Linked DNA regions of Homo sapiens: region 2 is linked to region 1. The links are contacts of gene promoters, found by promoter capture Hi-C in human tissues and cell types (Jung and others, 2019). All regions are on one chromosome and are shown on one strand. The core of a region is centred on a gene start or on the middle of the fragment in contact, and the rest is flanking DNA. Distances in the headings are between cores, read along the strand shown.

Evidence for each region. The method cuts DNA at HindIII sites, captures the fragments that hold promoters and counts their contacts. A contact is called where the count stands out against the background at its distance.
Region 2: a contact is called between a fragment that was not itself captured here and the fragment with the promoter of MPZL3 in region 1, in 1 of the 25 tissues and cell types used here (hippocampus).

What each region holds. Positions count from the first base shown.
Region 1 is chr11:118,251,115-118,253,683 of GRCh38, forward strand. It overlaps MPZL3 (myelin protein zero like 3), which reads right to left and starts at 1,251. Exons shown (of 6, transcript NM_198275.3): 1 at 1,108-1,251. The coding sequence starts at 1,180. MPZL2 (myelin protein zero like 2) reads right to left here. Exons shown (of 6, transcript NM_005797.4): 6 at 2,302-2,569. RefSeq lists enhancers at 571-1,132, 734-783, 1,133-1,693. The HindIII fragment of the contact is 7,018 bases long and covers 1-2,569 here.
Region 2 is chr11:118,522,109-118,527,699 of GRCh38, forward strand. It overlaps KMT2A (lysine methyltransferase 2A), which reads left to right. Exons shown (of 36, transcript NM_001197104.2): 36 at 1-4,724. The coding sequence ends at 64. The region is part of intron 1 of TTC36-AS1 (TTC36 and KMT2A antisense RNA 1); the gene reads right to left. TTC36 (tetratricopeptide repeat domain 36) reads left to right here and starts at 5,366. Exons shown (of 3, transcript NM_001080441.4): 1 at 5,366-5,504. The coding sequence starts at 5,387. The HindIII fragment of the contact is 4,547 bases long and covers 704-5,250 here.

The sequences.
Region 1 (2,569 bases), core at 1-2,500:
GTGTGAAAGAGAGAGAGAGAGGACTGGGTTTATTAGGAGTGACAGTAGGCCAGCCTAAATATCATACTGCAAAGTAATTTAGCTTAAAAACTGGAGACTTATGATGACACAGGCAGCTGGGAGGGATCGGGGGTGTGCTGGCAACATGAATATTAGTCACCAGTTAAAAACTTTCCAGCCTTAACTGCTAAGATTTAGGACATCTGAAGTCTTTATATTAAACTATTTATATTTATATAATATTAAATATCTCTTTCAGAAATCCCCATTACCCTCAAGGAAATTTTATAAATTTAGCAATTCACTCTAATACTAGATATACTAATATTTTATTTCCCAGGAAGACACACATACACAAAATCCAGGAAATAATTGTACCTTAAGATGAAGGTAATTAGGCTGGATTGAAATTTATGCAATTTGAAAATTATATGAAAGCAAAACTCACCTAATTTTAAGATGTGAATGTCAGTGTGAATACCCTACTTCTGATATTACTTAATAAATTTTAACAGAATTTATATGCTCTTTCTTGTATTAAAAAAAGTTATGAAAATGCTAAAGCAGTTACTTTTTCATCGATATGCTTCTCTATAACGAATCACATCACATCCCTTCTGTGACTAGCAAATATTTCATTTTATAGACTACAATAATCACCTACAAAAAATAAAATTACCAACTGTCATGATTTTGTTTCCCAAAACTACTGGGGCAAACTACTGAATGCTAGAACTGTTTTCTTTCTAATCAGGGTATACAGCGCCCAAACGACAGCGGTCAACCACTGATAATAACACCACAAAATAACACCGGGTGCCCCCAAAGCCAGAGCTCTTTGTGGTTCCATCAAGTATGCTATCACCAAACTACAATGACAGGTCACGCAAGGTGAAAAAGCTCCCAAAGCTCAGGAAAGGACTGACAAAATACCAACTATCCTCAACGGGGTGGTGATGACATCGTCCCAACGTCCCGCTCCCTCCCTCCTTCCTTCCCAGAGCTATGCGGGGGCTTTCTGGAGACCCCCCTACCCGGAACCGGAAAAGCGACCATCTTCCCTAACCCCCCGGCCGGAAGTGGAGCGTAGCCAGCCGGAGCACTCACCCTGGAAGAACAGGACGCCCAGCAGAGGGAAGAGAGCGCAGCCACGGCTTCCAGCTGCTCCTCTCTGCTGCATCCCGGCAGCTCTTCAGATGCTTGCACACCTTGTTTACAGCTCCCGGTAACGACACAGGTAACACCGGAAGTGACGTCAGAGCAGGAGGCCGAGAGACAACTTAAATGGCGATCCGAAGTTACCATAGGAACCTGGCTTCTTTCCAGAACCACACCTGGTTTCACTGACCAGAGATTTATTAACTTTCAGGCGGGAGCTAAATGCTCTCTTTTGCTTGAAAATGAAGTAGGCTACGGACTTGGAATAATTACAATTTTGTTTTTATGGAATTCTGCAGAACTAAATAATTTTGATGCTCTGACTGCATGTCAGACATCGTTTTTACGTCTCGAGATTTAGTTGAAGGTTCTCAGAATACACTACTGTAAATTTAGAGTTCAGAAACACCTGGGAGATCATACAGTATAGATAAATATATATTAGGTGCTTGTAGTGATATGTGCCACAAGCCTCATTGGTTGGTGTCCTTTTTAGTGTAAGTATTGCAGCCTCCAAAATTGGGTGTTTATTAAATTACTTTTGGCGGTGGCAATGATGATCAAATCATTACAGCCTGTATTAGAGGAAAAGAGGAACTGGGATTTCTGTGTCTTTGGTTGGAAAAGTAAGAAAGTTATGTTATCACAGTACTTGAAGTGAGATGGCGTCACATACTTCTGAAAAAGAGATGGTACAATAAGTACACTGCTTTAATAATCAGTAAGCCTCTTCCCTGGAAATTGCCACATGTCAATGAAAGCAGGAGGAGAATAAAAGTATGCTTTCGCTTTGGGGAAGAATTAATAAGTTTCCATTTTTCAATTTCCATTCCTTTACTAGACTTGAAAGCCAGTAGTTTTCCCTATTAAAAGTGTAATGCAAAGTACTAAATAGAATCTTTGATACTTTTCTTTGAAAGAGCCCTCAAACTAAGTAGTGTTGTTATGCCCAATTCCCAGCTATCCAAAACAGTGTGAAAATTCTGTGGAAATCCGTATACTTCTGTTTACCCATTAGAAACTAACTGTATCCATTATTGACTTGCAGGTTGTCTCTACTAAGAAAACTTTTTGGTAAAGATTAAATATATATCCATCTGTTTTTCCTGCAATGTAGAACTTCTAGATATGTATATACACAAATTATATAACTGATAATTCTTTATTACTAAAGGTTTATTTACATAGTGTTTAAAGCATAATAAAAAATAAATTACAATACAAAAGTGCTCTTTAGGAAGGAGACACTAAACAACAGGCCCATATTACCCCTTGACTATTTAGCCAAGACATAAGCTACAAATTTTGCCGGAAAAACTGTCCATACATTTTTAACTACTTCTTCATTATTCTTATGGACCATCATCCAGGACATCTGTTTGAAGAAATATCCAGTTATAATATTTTCAAA
Region 2 (5,591 bases), core at 1,727-4,226, 270 kb after region 1:
GGATGCCAGCAACAAGCTGCCCTGCAACTGTGGCGCCAAGAAATGCCGGAAGTTCCTAAACTAAAGCTGCTCTTCTCCCCCAGTGTTGGAGTGCAAGGAGGCGGGGCCATCCAAAGCAACGCTGAAGGCCTTTTCCAGCAGCTGGGAGCTCCCGGATTGCGTGGCACAGCTGAGGGGCCTCTGTGATGGCTGAGCTCTCTTATGTCCTATACTCACATCAGACATGTGATCATAGTCCCAGAGACAGAGTTGAGGTCTCGAAGAAAAGATCCATGATCGGCTTTCTCCTGGGGCCCCTCCAATTGTTTACTGTTAGAAAGTGGGAATGGGGTCCCTAGCAGACTTGCCTGGAAGGAGCCTATTATAGAGGGTTGGTTATGTTGGGAGATTGGGCCTGAATTTCTCCACAGAAATAAGTTGCCATCCTCAGGTTGGCCCTTTCCCAAGCACTGTAAGTGAGTGGGTCAGGCAAAGCCCCAAATGGAGGGTTGGTTAGATTCCTGACAGTTTGCCAGCCAGGCCCCACCTACAGCGTCTGTCGAACAAACAGAGGTCTGGTGGTTTTCCCTACTATCCTCCCACTCGAGAGTTCACTTCTGGTTGGGAGACAGGATTCCTAGCACCTCCGGTGTCAAAAGGCTGTCATGGGGTTGTGCCAATTAATTACCAAACATTGAGCCTGCAGGCTTTGAGTGGGAGTGTTGCCCCCAGGAGCCTTATCTCAGCCAATTACCTTTCTTGACAGTAGGAGCGGCTTCCCTCTCCCATTCCCTCTTCACTCCCTTTTCTTCCTTTCCCCTGTCTTCATGCCACTGCTTTCCCATGCTTCTTTCGGGTTGTAGGGGAGACTGACTGCCTGCTCAAGGACACTCCCTGCTGGGCATAGGATGTGCCTGCAAAAAGTTCCCTGAGCCTGTAAGCACTCCAGGTGGGGAAGTGGACAGGAGCCATTGGTCATAACCAGACAGAATTTGGAAACATTTTCATAAAGCTCCATGGAGAGTTTTAAAGAAACATATGTAGCATGATTTTGTAGGAGAGGAAAAAGATTATTTAAATAGGATTTAAATCATGCAACAACGAGAGTATCACAGCCAGGATGACCCTTGGGTCCCATTCCTAAGACATGGTTACTTTATTTTCCCCTTGTTAAGACATAGGAAGACTTAATTTTTAAACGGTCAGTGTCCAGTTGAAGGCAGAACACTAATCAGATTTCAAGGCCCACAACTTGGGGACTAGACCACCTTATGTTGAGGGAACTCTGCCACCTGCGTGCAACCCACAGCTAAAGTAAATTCAATGACACTACTGCCCTGATTACTCCTTAGGATGTGGTCAAAACAGCATCAAATGTTTCTTCTCTTCCTTTCCCCAAGACAGAGTCCTGAACCTGTTAAATTAAGTCATTGGATTTTACTCTGTTCTGTTTACAGTTTACTATTTAAGGTTTTATAAATGTAAATATATTTTGTATATTTTTCTATGAGAAGCACTTCATAGGGAGAAGCACTTATGACAAGGCTATTTTTTAAACCGCGGTATTATCCTAATTTAAAAGAAGATCGGTTTTTAATAATTTTTTATTTTCATAGGATGAAGTTAGAGAAAATATTCAGCTGTACACACAAAGTCTGGTTTTTCCTGCCCAACTTCCCCCTGGAAGGTGTACTTTTTGTTGTTTAATGTGTAGCTTGTTTGTGCCCTGTTGACATAAATGTTTCCTGGGTTTGCTCTTTGACAATAAATGGAGAAGGAAGGTCACCCAACTCCATTGGGCCACTCCCCTCCTTCCCCTATTGAAGCTCCTCAAAAGGCTACAGTAATATCTTGATACAACAGATTCTCTTCTTTCCCGCCTCTCTCCTTTCCGGCGCAACTTCCAGAGTGGTGGGAGACGGCAATCTTTACATTTCCCTCATCTTTCTTACTTCAGAGTTAGCAAACAACAAGTTGAATGGCAACTTGACATTTTTGCATCACCATCTGCCTCATAGGCCACTCTTTCCTTTCCCTCTGCCCACCAAGTCCTCATATCTGCAGAGAACCCATTGATCACCTTGTGCCCTCTTTTGGGGCAGCCTGTTGAAACTGAAGCACAGTCTGACCACTCACGATAAAGCAGATTTTTCTCTGCCTCTGCCACAAGGTTTCAGAGTAGTGTAGTCCAAGTAGAGGGTGGGGCACCCTTTTCTCGCCGCAAGAAGCCCATTCCTATGGAAGTCTAGCAAAGCAATACGACTCAGCCCAGCACTCTCTGCCCCAGGACTCATGGCTCTGCTGTGCCTTCCATCCTGGGCTCCCTTCTCTCCTGTGACCTTAAGAACTTTGTCTGGTGGCTTTGCTGGAACATTGTCACTGTTTTCACTGTCATGCAGGGAGCCCAGCACTGTGGCCAGGATGGCAGAGACTTCCTTGTCATCATGGAGAAGTGCCAGCAGGGGACTGGGAAAAGCACTCTACCCAGACCTCACCTCCCTTCCTCCTTTTGCCCATGAACAAGATGCAGTGGCCCTAGGGGTTCCACTAGTGTCTGCTTTCCTTTATTATTGCACTGTGTGAGGTTTTTTTGTAAATCCTTGTATTCCTATTTTTTTTAAAGAAAAAAAAAAAACCTTAAGCTGCATTTGTTACTGAAATGATTAATGCACTGATGGGTCCTGAATTCACCTTGAGAAAGACCCAAAGGCCAGTCAGGGGGTGGGGGGAACTCAGCTAAATAGACCTAGTTACTGCCCTGCTAGGCCATGCTGTACTGTGAGCCCCTCCTCACTCTCTACCAACCCTAAACCCTGAGGACAGGGGAGGAACCCACAGCTTCCTTCTCCTGCCAGCTGCAGATGGTTTGCCTTGCCTTTCCACCCCCTAATTGTCAACCACAAAAATGAGAAATTCCTCTTCTAGCTCAGCCTTGAGTCCATTGCCAAATTTTCAGCACACCTGCCAGCAACTTGGGGGAATAAGCGAAGGTTTCCCTACAAGAGGGAAAGAAGGCAAAAACGGCACAGCTATCTCCAAACACATCTGAGTTCATTTCAAAAGTGACCAAGGGAATCTCCGCACAAAAGTGCAGATTGAGGAATTGTGATGGGTCATTCCCAAGAATCCCCCAAGGGGCATCCCAAATCCCTGAGGAGTAACAGCTGCAAACCTGGTCAGTTCTCAGTGAGAGCCAGCTCACTTATAGCTTTGCTGCTAGAACCTGTTGTGGCTGCATTTCCTGGTGGCCAGTGACAACTGTGTAACCAGAATAGCTGCATGGCGCTGACCCTTTGGCCGGAACTTGGTCTCTTGGCTCCCTCCTTGGCCACCCACCACCTCTCGCACAGCCCCTCTGTTTTTACACCAATAACAAGAATTAAGGGGGAAGCCCTGGCAGCTATACGTTTTCAACCAGACTCCTTTGCCGGGACCCAGCCCGCCACCCTGCTCGCCTCCGTCAAACCCCCGGCCAATGCAGTGAGCACCATGTAGCTCCCTTGATTTAAAAAAAATAAAAAATAAAAAAAAAAGGAAAAAAAAATACAACACACACACAAAAATAAAAAAAATATTCTAATGAATGTATCTTTCTAAAGGACTGACGTTCAATCAAATATCTGAAAATACTAAAGGTCAAAACCTTGTCAGATGTTAACTTCTAAGTTCGGTTTGGGATTTTTTTTTTTTAATAGAAATCAAGTTGTTTTTGTTTTTAAGGAAAAGCGGGTCATTGCAAAGGGCTGGGTGTAATTTTATGTTTCATTTCCTTCATTTTAAAGCAATACAAGGTTATGGAGCAGATGGTTTTGTGCCGAATCATGAATACTAGTCAAGTCACACACTCTGGAAACTTGCAACTTTTTGTTTGTTTTGGTTTTCAAATAAATATAAATATGATATATATAGGAACTAATATAGTAATGCACCATGTAACAAAGCCTAGTTCAGTCCATGGCTTTTAATTCTCTTAACACTATAGATAAGGATTGTGTTACAGTTGCTAGTAGCGGCAGGAAGATGTCAGGCTCACTTTCCTCTGATTCCCGAAATGGGGGGAACCTCTAACCATAAAGGAATGGTAGAACAGTCCATTCCTCGGATCAGAGAAAAATGCAGACATGGTGTCACCTGGATTTTTTTCTGCCCATGAATGTTGCCAGTCAGTACCTGTCCTCCTTGTTTCTCTATTTTTGGTTATGAATGTTGGGGTTACCACCTGCATTTAGGGGAAAATTGTGTTCTGTGCTTTCCTGGTATCTTGTTCCGAGGTACTCTAGTTCTGTCTTTCAACCAAGAAAATAGAATTGTGGTGTTTCTTTTATTGAACTTTTAACAGTCTCTTTAGTAAATACAGGTAGTTGAATAATTGTTTCAAGAGCTCAACAGATGACAAGCTTCTTTTCTAGAAATAAGACATTTTTTGACAACTTTATCATGTATAACAGATCTGTTTTTTTTCCTTGTGTTCTTCCAAGCTTCTGGTTAGAGAAAAAGAGAAAAAAAAAAAAGGAAAATGTGTCTAAAGTCCATCAGTGTTAACTCCCTGTGACAGGGATGAAGGAAAATACTTTAATAGTTCAAAAAATAATAATGCTGAAAGCTCTCTACGAAAGACTGAATGTAAAAGTAAAAAGTGTACATAGTTGTAAAAAAAAGGAGTTTTTAAACATGTTTATTTTCTATGCACTTTTTTTTATTTAAGTGATAGTTTAATTAATAAACATGTCAAGTTTATTGCTGCACATGGTTAAGCTTCCTTTTGGCTTTGGTTGGAGAGGGTGGAGAAAAGCGGGAGGGGCATGGCCTGTGACCTGGTCACAAAGTACCTTCCACAGTCCTTTACTTTAAGGTGGCATCACTAAATTATTCCCTGTAGCCCACCTTCAGGTCCACTCCACACTGGCTCTCTTGACTATTTTCTTCCTTTATTCATCAGTGATGTATGTTCAGGACCTAATTAATTGTGGATATGAGGCAGGGTCAAGAGGACAAAGGAACAGGGCCTTTACCTTCTACATAGCTCCCCTGTTTCATCCAAGGAGGTTAAGTATTGATTTTTATCGGTTTTCTCAACTGTGAATATAATAAACTGAAAGCATTTCAGGGAGAAGCTGGAGAACACCTTCTCTAGCTGCACTCCACCTTAAGGCTGAAGCTGGATTTGTTTACTGTTTCTCCTGGGGGCAGGGGCAGTTGAGAAATAACCAAGTAGTCTGCCAAGCCAGGGTCAACCCTCCAGGCCACAGGTTGAGCAAATGCTACAGCCATGGACAGGGAGACACTCCTCACGAAGGGGTGGTCCTCATCCTTTCAGATCAACTTCCTGCTGGAGGCTCCACCCTCACCACGTCCCTCCCTCTTCTCTCATCTGGAGTCACCTTTTGGGATTTTGGAGTTGAGCACCATGGGGACTCCAAATGATCAGGCAGTGCTGCAGGCCATCTTCAACCCTGACACCCCATTTGGAGACATTGTTGGATTGGACCTCGGAGAGGAAGCAGAAAAGGAAGAACGAGAAGAAGGTGGGCATTTGATCTGGAGTGTAGCTCTGCACATAGGCTGGCCTGCTGGCCTCCCGAGGTAGCAGAGAGGGAGGTGGTTTTATAAGG